Linked DNA regions of Homo sapiens: region 1 is linked to region 2. The links are contacts of gene promoters, found by promoter capture Hi-C in blood cells and fetal thymus (Javierre and others, 2016). All regions are on one chromosome and are shown on one strand. The core of a region is centred on a gene start or on the middle of the fragment in contact, and the rest is flanking DNA. Distances in the headings are between cores, read along the strand shown.

Region 1 (7,060 bases), core at 1,322-3,821, 2.9 Mb after region 2:
TAGTTCTTTTGGGGCCTGTCCTTAATAATAATGACAATAATAATGCTACCTGTTGTGTAGCACTTTTTAAGGCAGATGAATAATATGTATTTCATTTAAGTTGTTTAGCAACTCAGTGGACTGTGAAGAACAAATACAATTTCAGTTTTATGGATGAGGTAACAGGCCAATGAAATAGGACACTGGGATTGTGTAAACATCTCCAAATCAGACTACACTAATAGGTCAGTCACTTTAAAAAATACTTAGAATTCTATGGGTTAGGTGTACGTGTCAATCTAAATGTATAGAAAGATTTCCTCAATGGAGCAGACAATGTTAAGCACTTTATAAATCAAAGAGCTGTTACTGTTGCATGGCACAGGCAGAGTTATGTCTATTATGTGATAAATCACAGTGGTTGTTCCAGTATTCACATTTGGGGATGACAGCTATAGCTTTGTGGCACACAGCAGCAGGTTGATTTCACCAAGCTGTTGATAGGGAAATGAAACAAGCTTTAAATATGTACTATGTGTCCATCTGTACTCTCCATGATAAATAATCCCCTTTTTACTATTCCTTTGTGTGAACTTCTGTCCTTTCAATGATGCCTTTTGTCTTTATTTTTCTTGAATAAAATTATTACTCAGGGACTCTGGAAGAACTGATTGTGATTTTCCTCTAGGGATTTAAAGATAGCCCTACATGTAGGTTACTGTTTAATCAAATCAGTATAGGTCATTCTTAAAACTACTGAGTTAAGGAGGAGCAGATTGTTTATCCTAGGAAGTTATTCTGCCTATGTGAGTATATAAAATGCGAATTTCAGTCAATTTGGGCTATAAGGTCTGGAGAAGAACTCTTCTTAGTTATGAAAATGTTAGCATTAATTTTAATAATGAATTTATGTGTTTATTGTTGTTTTTTTTCAACCTTTGTCAAGGAGTGGATTTTTTGTCTTTTTTTTGAAGGTGGTCTTAGATTAACTTCTGTAAAATTTGTTTCGTATTTAAGTCTTTTTTTTTTTTTTTTTTTTTGAGACGGAGTCTTGCTCTGTCACCAGGCTGGAGGGCAGTGGCGCAGTCTTGGCTCACTGCAACTTCAGTCTCCTGGGTTCAAGTGATTCTCGTGTCTCAGCCTCCCAAGTAGCTGGGATTACAGGCACACGCCACCATGCCTGGCTAATTTTTGTATTTTTAGTAGAGATGGGGTTTCACCATGTTGGCCAGGCTGGTCTTGAACTCCTGACGTTGTGATCCGCCTGCCTCGGCCTCCCAGAGTGCTGGGATTACAGGCGTGAGCTGCCATACCCAGACCGTATTTGAGTCTTGAAGAAAGCATTCTTTCTTATTGGTCTTAACTAAAGGGTCTTTTATATTAAAAAATTAGAAACAATTGTAAGATATTTTAGAGGCTACAGAGTAGTCTTGTTACCAGTCCATGTCATACTTCAATATTTGTACAAAAAGACGGTACATGTAATCTAAAAGAGTAGGTATTGCCAAGTAAATTGTATTTGGATTTGATATACTAATATTATTTTAATTGTTAATAAGAAAAAGAACCTTATGGCCAGGGATAGGAGGAAGGGGATTTAATAAAGAATGAGAGTTATTACATTGGATTGAAATAGGTTATCAAAAGCTTAGAGACGATACCAGGAAAATTCTCTTTGGGTTATATTAGTAAAGTTTGTAGGAATAAGCTGGGCACAGTGGCAGGGCACTTGTAATCCTAGCTACTTGGGAGGCTAAGGTGGGAGATTGCTTGAGTCCAGGAGTTTGAGCCTTGCCTGGGCAACAGAGAGACTCTGTCCCTTTCTTTTTTTTTTTTTTTTTTGAGACAGAGTCTTGCTCTGTTGCCCAGGCTGGATTGCAGTAGTGTCATCTCGGCTCACTGTAACCTCCGCCTCTTGGGTTCAAGCGATTCTTTTGCCTCAGCCTCCTGAGTAGCTGGGATTACAGGCATGCGCCAGCACGCCCAGCTAATTTTTGTATTTTTAGTAGAGATGGGGTTTCACCATATTGGCCAGGCTGGTCTTGAACTCCTGACCTCAAGTGATCCACCTACCTCGGCCTCCCAAAGTGTTGGGATTACAGGCCTGAGCCACCGCTCCTGGCAAAGACTCTCTTAAAGAAAAAAAAAAAAAAAAAAAAAAAAAAAAGAATTGGTAGGGGTAACTGGATATAAGGTGGTGGACTATTTACAGGATACCATAAGCCATAAGCTCATGGTCCATAGTTGATATGTATTAGAAGTAGAAGATTAGTGGAAACAATTAATTAATTTTGAACATAAATGAAGCATACAAAAGGGAAATTTGGCATACTTAGAAGTGTCATCAAAGAGACTTAAAAAAAATAAAGGGACTGGGTGTGGTGGCTCACGCCTGTAATCCTAACACTTTGGGAGGCCGAGGTGGGCAGATTGCCTGAGCTCAGGAGTTCGAGACCAGCCTGGGCAACGTGGAGAAACCCCGTCTCTACTAAAATACAAAAAATTAGCCAGGCGTGGTAGTGGGCGCCTGTAGTCCCAGCTACTCTTGGGAGGGTGAGGCAGGAGGATTGCTTGAACCTGGGAGGCAGAAGTTGCAGTGAGCCAAGATTGTGCTACTGTACTCCAGCCTGGGTGACAAAGTGAGACTCCGTCTCCAAATAAATAAATAAATAAATAAATAAGTAAAGGTTGGCTGGGCACAGTGGCTCATGCCTGTAATCCCAGCACTTTGGGAGGCTGAGGTGGGCGGATCACGAGGTCAGAACTTCGAGACCAGCCTGACCAACATGGTGAAACCCCGTCTCTACTAAAAATAGAAAAATTAGCCGGGTGTGGTGGCACACGCCTGTAATTTCAGCTACTCAGGAGGCTGAGGCAGGAGAATCACTTGAACCTGGGAGGCGGAGGTTGCAGTGAGCTGAGACTGTGCCACTGCATTCCAGTCTGGGCGACAGAGCGAGACTCTCTCTCAAAATAAAGTAAATAAATAAAGGTTGTGGCTTATGAGTGAGGTCATTAGGACCACAACAAGGAATTTAGCAGTGGTATAAAGCAACAAAGCAAATTTTGCTATAGGTCCATCATTCTCTACTTAAAAATTGAAAATAAAAGCCTGGCTCAGTAGCTTACGCTTGTAATCCCAGCACTTTGGGAGGCCAAGGCAGGAGGATTGCTTGTGCCCAGGAGTTTGAGATTAGCCTGGGCAACATAGTGAGACCCTGTCTCTACAAATAATGAAAAAATTAGCTGGGGATAGTGGCATGTGCCTGTGGTCCCAATCCTCAGGAGGCTGATGCAGGAGGATCACCTGAGCCAGGGAAGTCGAGGCTGCAGCGAGCCATGATCACACCACTGGGCTCCAGTTTGGGTGACAGAGTGAGACCCTGTCTTAAAAAAATGCAAATAAAACACTGTTTCAGAGTTAGTGTTTATAATAAAATGTTTTCCCTCTGATTATCATCTGCAATCTATTACTTTATGACTATACTGTTATTCACAACGTTTTAAATATTCCTGATGATAATGAAAAGAAGCTTATTTATAAACCAATACCAAATGGTTAGGAATTCACTTTTACTAAATGAATGCCTTTTTCTTTCTCTTGCTAGTGCCGAAAACATTTGAAGAGTCGGAGATTAGTCAGTGCAAAACAGCTTGGTGTGGATAGAATTGTAGATTTTCAATTTGGAAGTGATGAAGCTGCTTACCATTTAATCATTGAGCTCTATGATAGGGTAAGTTAAATTTGTGGGATATGGTGAAGGAAAATTTCTTATTAATCATTTTGTAATAGTGCTATATAACATGAGTGGGGGAACATTTTTTTTCTGTGTCAAAGGTTGTTACTACCCTAGGAAATGGGTGCCACACAAATAAAATAAAATTTTCCAGTAATAACCTTCATTTTATCTGTAGGTCTGAGTTTAGGCAGACTTTAGCCATTTAGAATAGCCTTATGAATGTAGGAGATGAAGATCTGAGAAGTAAATTATTTGGTACTTGACATTTCAGGACTAATATGCAACCAGAAAATAGTCAAATACGGTCATGCACTGATGCGCTGTATGTATAGTGATGTTTCAGTCAACAACAGACTGCATATAAACGTTGGTCCTGTAACATTGTAATGGATCTAATAAATTCTTACTGCTTAGTGACATCTTGATCCTGACTCTGTGTAGGCCTAGGCTGGTGTGTGAGTTTGTGTGTTAGTTTTTAACAAAAACATTAAAAGTAAAAACAAAACAATTTAAAATGGAAAAAAAGCTTAGAGAATATGGATCTAAAGAAAGAAAGTATTGTACAGCTGTACGATATGTGTTTTAAGCTAAGTGTTATTACAAGAGTCAAAAAGCTAAAAAGTTTAAAGTTTATAAAGTAAAAAAGTTCCAGGAAGCAAAGGTTAATTTATTATTGAAGAAAGAAAAACATCTTAAAAATAAATTTGGCTGAGCGCAATGACTCAGGCCGGGCACAGTGGCTCACACCTGTAATCCTAGCATTTTGGGAGGCCGAGGAGGGCGGATCACCTGGGGTCAGATCACCTGGGGTCAGGAGTTCAAGACCAGCCTGGCCAACATGGCAAAACCCCGTCTCTATTAAAAAATACAAAAATTAGCTGGGCGTGGTGGCGGGCACCTATAATCCCAGCTACTCGGGAGGCTGAGGCAGGAGAATCACTTGAACCTGGGAGGCAGAGGTTCCAGTGAGCTCAGATTGTGTCACTGTGCTCCAGCCTGGGCAACGGAGCAAGACTTTGTCTCAAAAATAAACTAACTAACTAACTAACTAACTAACTTAATCTGGGCCAGGTGTGGTGGCTCACACCTGTAATCCCAGCACTTTGGGAGGCCAAGGCGAGTGGATCACCTGAGGTCAGGAGTTTGAGACCAGCCTGCCCAATGTGGCAAAACTGCATCTCTACTAAAAATACAAAAATTAGCCTGGTGTGGTGGTGCGTGCCTGTAGTCCCAGCTACTCGGGAGGCTGAGGCAGGAGAATCACTTGAACCTGGGAGGCAGTGGTTGCAGTGAGCTGAGATCATGCCATTGTACTCCAGCTCAGGTGACAGAGTGAGATTCAGTCTCAAAAAGGAAAAAAAAAATATATGTGTGTGTGTGTGTGTGTGTGTGTGTGCGCGCGCGTGCGCGTGCGTGTGTATGTATATAAATAAATAAATACATAAATTTAATCTGGTCTGAGGTAAGCATAATTTTTTTAAAAATTAAAAAATAAAAAACAAATTTAGTGTAGCCCAAGTGTGCAGTATTTATCAAGTCTACAGTAGTATGCAGTAATGTCCCAGGCCTTCACATTTACTCACTGTCACTCACCCAGAGCAGTTTTCAGTCCTGCATGCTCCATTCATGGTAAGTGCCCTATACAGGTGTTCCATTTTTAATCTTTTATACCAGGGATCTTCAACCCCTGTGCCGCAGACTGGAACTGGTCTGTGGAACCAGGCCACACGGCAGGAGGTGAGCAGTATGCGAGTGAGCATTACTCACCTGAGCTCTGCCTCCTGTCAGATCAGTGGTGGCATTAGATTCTTATAGGAGCGTGAACCCTATTGTGAACTGTGCATGCAAGGGATCTAGGTTGCATGCTTCTTGCGAGAATCTAATGCCTGATGATCTGAGGTGGAACAGTTTCATCCGGAAACCATACCCCTGCACCCCCCATCCATGGAAAAATTGTCTTCCATGAAACTGGTCCCTGGTGCCAAAGGCTGGGGACTGCGGTTTTTTTTTTGTTTTGTTTTGGTTTTTTTTTTTTGATACAGAGTCTCACTTTGTTGCCCAGGCTGCAGTGCAAGGGTGTGATCTCAGCTCACTGCAACCTCTGCCTCCCGGGTTCAAGCAATCCTAGTGCCTCAGCCTCCTGAGTAGCTGGTATTACTGGCATGTACTACCATGCCCAGCTAATTTTTGTATTTTTAGTAGAGATGGGGTTTCACCATATTGGCCAGACTGTTCTCAAACTCCTGACCTCAGGTGATCTGCTCGCCTTGGCCTCCCAAAATGCTGGGATCACAGGCATGAGCCACTGCGCCCGGCCTGGAACTGTTGTTGTAATACCATATTTTTACTGTACTTTTTCTATATTTAGATGTACTTAGATACACAAATACTTGCTATTGTATTACAGTTGACTACAGTATTCAGTAACATGCTATACAGATTCCTAGCCTAGGAGCAATAGGTTATATCATATCTTTGGTGGATGTATTAGGCTACACCGTCTAGGTTTGTGTAAGTATACTCTATTACGTTCACACGACATCGAAGTTGCCTAAATGCATTTCTTAGAATGTATCCCCATTGTTAAGCAATGCATGACATTGGGTCTGCCTTCTTTTATGCAATATTTTTTATTTTTTTGAGATAGAGTCTTGCTCTGTTGGCCAGGCTGGAATTCAGTGGCATGATCAGGGCTTACTGCAAACTCGGCCTCCTGGGCTCAAGTGACCCTCTTGCCTTAGCCTTTCATGTAGCTGGTACCACAGATGTGCACCACCATGCCTGGCCAATTTTTTTATTTTTTGTAGAGACAGACTCTCACTTCGTTGCCCAGGCTGACCTTGGACCCCTGGCTCAAGCAATCTTCCCATCTCAACCTCCTAAGGTGTTGGGATTACGGGGGTGAGCCACCACGCCTGGCTCTTTTATTCAATATATAATGTCTGTGAGATTCATTGATGTTGAAAATTCCCTTAGCTCCACATCCTTAGCAACATTTGATATGATCTCTTAGAGCTCTTTATCTAATCTGATTATGAGCCCTTTGCTGATTATTTGTGTAGTAAATGTCCTTTTCTACTCTAACCTGAGTTTTTACTCTTTCTTTTTTTTTATTTTTTAATTTTTTTTGAGAATAAGTCTCACCCTGTCGCCAGGCTGGAGTGCAGTGGTGTGATCTTGGCTCACTGCAACCTCCGCCTCCCGGGTTCAAGCGATTCTCCTGCCTTAGCCTCCCGAGTAGCTGGGATTACAGGCACCTGCCACCACGCCCAGCTAGTTTTTGTACTCTTAGTAAAACAGGGATTCACCATGTTGGCCAGTCTGGTCTTGAACTCCTGACC
Region 2 (6,873 bases), core at 1,614-4,113:
AAGGTTGCTTGCAGTTAAGTGCTGAAATTACTGAATCATTTTGAGGATATGAAAGCATACTCCTTCGCGGTGGCTCAAGCCTGTAATCCCAGCACTTTGGGAGGCCGAGGCAGGCGGATCACTTGAGGTCTGGCGTTCCAGACCAGCAGGGCCAACATGGTGAAACCCCGTCTCTACTAAAAGTACAAAAATTAGACGGGAGTGGTGGCGGGCGCCTGTAATCCCAGCTACTCAGGCGGCTGAGGCAGGAGAATCTTTTGAACGTGGGAGGCGGAGGTTGCAGTGAGCGGAGATCACGCCACTGCATTCCAGCCTGGGCAACAAGAGTGAAACTCCGTCTCAAAAAAATAAATAAATAAATAAAAGCATACTCTTCATTCACATTATTGTATGTTAAGTATAAATTCATTTTTATAACTAGCCTAAATATGACCTCCTGTTTTCTAAGAGTATATTGGCCGGGCGCGGTAGCTCACGCCTGTAATCCCTGCACTTTGGGAGGCCAAGCCAGGCGGATCACAAGGTCAGGAGTTTGAGACCATCCTGGCCAACATGGTGAAACCCCGTCTCTACTAAAAATACAAAAAAATTAGCCCGGTGTGGTAGCGGGTGCCTGCAGTCCCAGCTACTCGGGAGGCTGAGGCGGGAGAATGGCGTGAACACGGGAGGCAGAGCTTGCAGTGAGCCCAGATCGCACCACTGCAAGATCATTCCAGCCTGGGCGACAGAGTGAGACTCTGTCTCAAAAAAAAAAAAAAAAAAGCTGGGCCTGGCGGTGCGCGCCTGTAATCCCCAGCTACTCAGGAGGCTTAGGCAGGAGAACTGTTTGAACCGGGACCCGAGGCAGAGGCTGCGGTGGGCTGAGACAGCGCCACTGCACTCCAGCCTGGGGCAACAAGAGTGAAACTCTGTGTCAAAAAAAAAAAAAAAAAAAAAACCATGAGTATATTCTTGGGCCAGGTGCAGTGGCTCACACCTGTAATCCCAACACTTTCGGAGGACAAGGCGGGAGGATCTTGAGGCCAAGAGTTCGAGACCAGCCTGGAGAAAAAACCCATCGCTACAAAAAAAAAAAAAAAGAAAAATTAGCCCGGCATGGTCCCAGCTACTCCAGAGGCTGAGGTGAAAGGATGGCTTGAGCATGGGAGTTCGAGACTGCAGTGAACCGAGATCACACCACTGCACTACATTTTGCAACAGTGATAGTCACAAACAAAGTCTCTACTCTTAAAACAAATGTAATTGTCAAGCATCAATACCACAAGAGAGCCCTCCAAACAAAAATGTGAACCTAGGCCGGGCGCGGTGGCTCATACCTGCAATTTCAGCACTTTGGGAGGCCGAGTCGGGCGGATCACAAGGTCAGGAGATCGAGACCACCCTGGCCAAAATGGTGAAACCCGTCTCCCCTAAAAACACAAAAATTAGCTGGGCGTGGTGGTGCGCGCCTGTAGTTCCAGCTACTCAGGAGGCTGAGGCAGGAGAATCGCTTGAACCCGGAAGGCGGAGGTTGCAGTGAGCCGAGATCGCGCCACATTGCACTCCAGCCTGGCGACAGAGCAAGACTCCGTCTCAAAAAAAAAAAAAAAAAAAAAGTGAACCTCCAATGAAGATATTCAATAGAATAAATATTCGGAATAAATTGAATGGTCTCCTAAAAATAGGGCTTTATTTTTCCCAACTACTTTAAAGGTATTTTTAACTAGCGATGTTAGATTTTCTTTCTTAATCCTACTAAAGTATAGCTGAGTATCTTCGTCTTGTTAATTTAGCCTCCAGAAAATTCTAATTTAGTAGTCTGCAATGCCGTAAAATGTTAAACTAGCAACAGATGAAAAAAAATCCGAGTAGAAACAGCAGGCAGGGATCTAAGGTGGAGTAAAAATAGCCACAAATTAGAAACCAGGAGAAAAGGTATATAGTATTTTACTTTCAATATTAATTTTCCTCCAAAGGTCAAGATTTCTGATTAAGAGTTCTCAGATTAAGATGAGCTAGCTTTGAGACACTTTGTTGTGCGGGTCATAGCTTTGTCTAAAAACAAACAAAAAACTTTGGGAAACTTTTCGAAGGCGCGCTTCCAAACTTCAGGCGCCGAGTCTATTTCACATGTGGGGCCATGTGTCCCACAAGTGAATCGTTTACACCACAGATATTCCTCAAAAGGAGACTAAACCAACTTCGCTCTCTTGTTACTTTGACAATAAAAGAGGAACCTTACTCCAGGTCAGTCCTGGATGCCAAGCCTAGGGACTAAGGGATTGCTTTTCCTCTTCTCAAATGTAAGTACACCAGACGCTGCCCCTCCGCGGGGTCTGGAGAGGACGAGCAACTCAGTGGGGATTGGAGCCGACCGCTCGGCTTCAGAGGTCCCGGGACGCCCTTAGGAGGCAGGGCGCCCGTACAGGTGGCGGCTAAGACGGTTGGGGACTGGGGTCGCCCCTCGGCCGGAGCCACAGGGAGAGGCCTGTGCGTGGCAGCCACGGGAGCGACTCACCTCGGCGTCTTCCTTGCACTGTGGAAGGGAAGGGAACTCCAGCTTCACGTCCTCCATGGTGCTGGCCCGCGGGCTGGTGGGTGGGGTGGGAGAGTGTTACACAGCCGGCCGACCCTCGGGCTGGCTGCGGCGGCGGAAGGAAGGAGGGCCGGCGGAGCGGAGGGCTGACAGGAGGGCGGCGGGATTACAACTAACACACGCAGACTACAGGGTCCCAGTGACTCCAGCAGCGGCGGCGGCGAAGACAGGGAAGAGGAGGGTCGGGCGTCTTACACCCGGCCGCCATGCCGCTGCCGTCTCCCTCCCCCAGAGTCTCCGTACCCCTCAGGCCGCCCAGGATCCAGCACAGGAACCAGCCCGACAACCGTCTCCCCGCCTCCTTCCCGCCCCCTCCACCCGCGTCGCCTCAGCCAATCCCAGCCCACGCTCGCCTTCTGCCCGCCCTCCGCCGCCGCCAGGTGTCAGCGCGCCACCGCCCTGCTCCGCCCCTTCGCTAGAGCGCAGACGCTTGGGGGTGGGGGGGGCGGAGCCTCGGATGCTGCTAGGCCACAGCTCACCCGGCGTGGAGGAGGCGGGGCTGCGGTGGGACAGGACGAGTGAAGGTCCTGGGAAAGGCAGTGGGGCGGTCCGAGCCAGCTCCGCCCTTTCCAGACAGGACGTAGAGCCCTTCTTTAACATAAGAACAAACAGGCAAAACAGGCTACCCACCAGTGGCATCCGAAAGGAAAGCTATAGTTTCTCCCCTCTCAAAATTCTGCGCAATCTATGCTGAGTTTATAACCAAATGACTAATAAATGAAGAGTTCAATTTAAAATCACGTGGTGCCATACAGAAAATAAAATACCCATCACCTTTAAGCAAAGAATTAAACGGCTCAATTTAAAATTTTTTAAAGTATTTTAAGAGTACTTGAAAATACAACTCAGTTTAGATTACCTAGAAAATATCAAGAATGGCAACTAGAAAAAAATCAGAAAAAGGAACTGATAGCTGACTCAGTAAATTGTATATAATACTGTAAAATTTCTTCCATTATTATATTTTGAAATAAAAATAATAAACCAGATGGCTTTCAATATCTTTTAAAAGGAGTTTGCCAGCCTGAGCAAAATAGTAAGACCCCCCTCTCTAAAAAACAATTTTAAAATTCCCTGGGTGTGGTGGCGTTATGCCTGTAAACCCATGGTGAAAAGATTTGGGCCGGGCGCGGAGGCTCACGCCTGTAATCCCAGCACTTTGGGCGGCTGAGGCGTGTGGATCACCTGAGGTCGGGAGTTTGAGACCAGCCTGACCAACATGGAGAAACCCCGTCTCTACTAAAAATACAAAAATTAGCTGGGTGTGGTGGCGCATGCCAGTAATCGCAGCTACTTAGAAGGCTGAGGCAGGAGAACCGCTTAAATCCGGGAGGCGGAGGTTGCAATGAGCTGAGATAGTGCAATGGCACTACAGCCTGGGCAACAAGAGCGAAACTCCATCTCAAAAAAAATCAAAAATAAAAAAAGAAAGAAAGGATTTGTACACCAAATTGATTCTTTAAAAAACCACCGCCAGCACAAAGGTAAAAGGCAAGATAGTCACTCCTTAACTAAATGCAAATTATAAGTGAAAAGATCACATAGATATTTGACTTAAACCTCCCCCTACATTCTACTTTTTGTCACATAAAATGCACTGCCAACACATAGAAATAGAACTGTACAATAATTTGAGTATGAGATGGCTAACTTGACCACTCCATTTTCTATTTTAACTGTTCATCTTCTAAAATTATAAAAAGGCACATAATATCCTGCTAGGAAGTTTTTAATTTGAAGAATTATTGTATAATTAGCTAGGTCATGTATTTTTGGTTCTTTAGTGTTTATGAAACTGAAGTTGTCTTTTCTTTTCACCAGCATCTTTAATAATTATTGATGCCCAATGATGATTCCTTTGTGTACTTTGTTATAGCTTTTATTGCCAGATGATATAAGAATCATGTATAGGTAACAGAAATCATGTTTTGAACATTTCTGACACTCCTACATCCCCTACATCATACACTCTTAGCCAGGTATCCATACATACCTAAAGAGTCCTTGGATGAGCTTGGGAAACAATAAATTTCCTGAAATTATAGTATACGCAAAATTGTATGTTAGAATTTTTCCTGGAAGAGGGTCCAGACCTCCACATCCTCAACAGGGACCTATCGTCTTACATAAACCAAGAAAACCCAGTCACATATTAGCAAATATTACGTTGAATCATACTCTTTAAAAAGTTATGGATGTGCATGTATATTTTCAATTAACCAACAATGAGCTTAATCACAGTAGATGAAGAATATGTAAACACTTTCTGAAAGGAGGAGTACAGACATACCCACACATCCATGTTTTATTTAAGAAGATGATCTTATGAACATTAAGTATGTGTACTATTTTAAAATAATATTCAAAAATCCACAATCCATCTGGGTTATCAAATAGTTTACTTGCTAAAGAACCTAAAGGACCACAGTAAATATACTCAGAAAAGACAAGAATATATATGTAGGAGAACTGAATCAAACAGATTTTATTCAACTTTTTAGATGAGGAAAACAAATGATACAAAATAAGTCATAAGAAATGCTTTCTTATACCACTATCTCAAACCACTTTCAATATTTTACAAAATGCTCACGCAGCAAATATGAAAAGCTTCAACACTTTCCCTTTGTAACTTGCTGCAATAAATGCAACTTTAACAAACATACAAATTTCTTCTGTATCTTAAAAGTTGAATTACTAATTTTTATGATGTTACTCATATTTTTATTCATATACTTTTAATGACATCATTACCAATACATACATTATTTTCTTTAACTTTATTTTTACAATAAGCCAACATCTGTCATGCAGCCATCAAAAATCTTACAGTAAATTACACAGGTTTGTAGTCCAATTTAGACTCCAGCTTCTTAGAATCAGCCACTTTTCTGACTGCTTTCATGAAGTCTTCCTGTACTACAAAATCATGATCAGCACGAATTGCGAACATACCTGTAGAGAATAAAACAACATGACTGCTATATATCACATATGAATTATATGTTCATTATAAGAAAAACAATATAATTCTATGGAATAAATGTGAAGCTTAGATTTATTACTTCTGAGCCAGTAGTTGTAATTTGCTAAAAACCACTATCTTTTTTCAATTAAAATCCACAGGCCGGGTGCGGTGGCTCACGCCTGTAATCCCAACACTTTGGGAGGCCAAGATGGGCAGATTGCAATGTCAAGAGATTAAGACCATCCTGGCCAACACGGTGAAACCCCATCTCTACTAAAAATACAAAAAAAAAAAAAAATTAGCTGGGCATGGTGGCGCGCGCCTGTAGTCCCAGCTACTCGGGAGGCTAAGGCAGGAGAATGGCTTGAACCCAGGAGGCGGAGGTTGCAGTGAGCTGAGATAGTGGCACTGCACTCCAGCCTGGCAACAGAGCGAGACCCCATCTCAAAAAAAAAAAAAAAAAAAAATCCATAGCGGTGTTGTGATTATGTTCTAAAACAAAAACAGGTATGACCATTATATGAATATTTAACATCCGGTTCAAGGCTGGGCACGGTGGCTCACACCTGTAATCCCAACACTTTGGGAGGCCAAGGTGGACGGATTACCTGGGGTCGGGAGTTCGAGACCAGCCTAGCCAACATGGTAAAACCCCGTTTCTACTAAAAACACAAAAATTAGCTGGGCGTAGTAGTGGGCATCTGTAACCCCAGCTACTTGGGAGGCTGAGGCAGGAGAATCGCTTGAACCCGGGAGGCAGAGGTTGCAGTGAGCCAAGATCGCACCACTGCACTCCAGTCTGGGTGACAGAGTGAGGCTCTGTCTCAAAAAAATAAAATAAAATAAAATCAGGCTTAAATGGTCCCTGTATCTGATTGTAGCTCTTAATAAAAACAAGCATAAAAAACCGAAGCAATCAAAACTACCAACACATACACATTTTAAGCGTAACTTAACTTGACAGGAAGCAATTTGCTGGAAGGCACACATTTATGGGGGAAAAAAAATCTTGAGTAAGTTTGATAGCCATTCTTTGTTAATAATCAAAAACGTTGAGAATAGGGAATCATATAGAAAGCCAACAGCGGGTTTTAGCAAAACTCGGAGTCATTATTCATGTGTTAAAATTTACCTAATTTATGTACAAATTGGTATTTTTATTTGATTCATATTTGAGTATCACAACTCAATTTTTTCCTTCAACTTTTTGACAAGTACCTTCTCAAACAGTATTTGACAAAGGGGTAAAAGTTTCCTTGTATGCAGTTTTTTAAACATTAGTTGTGTTATGGATATGGGTCCCAGATTTTGAGATAATCCTAACTCATGA

What was found. Contacts are between HindIII fragments. The CHiCAGO score rates a contact against its expected background, and 5 or more counts as called.
Region 1: a contact is called between a fragment that was not itself captured here and the fragment with the promoter of STYX in region 2, in 1 of 17 cell types (naive CD8 T cells). The highest score is 5.8, in naive CD8 T cells.

The regions. Positions count from the first base shown.
Region 1 is chr14:49,842,793-49,849,852 of GRCh38, reverse strand. It overlaps NEMF (nuclear export mediator factor), which reads left to right. Exons shown (of 33, transcript NM_004713.6): 4 at 3,588-3,713. Among named protein-coding and RNA genes, the nearest start is that of NEMF, 6.5 kb to the left of the region's middle. The HindIII fragment of the contact is 1,886 bases long and covers 1,629-3,514 here.
Region 2 is chr14:52,726,156-52,733,028 of GRCh38, reverse strand. It overlaps STYX (serine/threonine/tyrosine interacting protein), which reads right to left and starts at 2,863. Exons shown (of 11, transcript NM_145251.4): 1 at 2,498-2,863. The coding sequence starts at 2,554. PSMC6 (proteasome 26S subunit, ATPase 6) reads right to left here. Exons shown (of 14, transcript NM_002806.5): 14 at 4,439-5,530. The coding sequence ends at 5,412. RefSeq lists silencers at 2,569-2,648, 2,719-3,178. The HindIII fragment of the contact is 7,384 bases long and covers 1-5,187 here.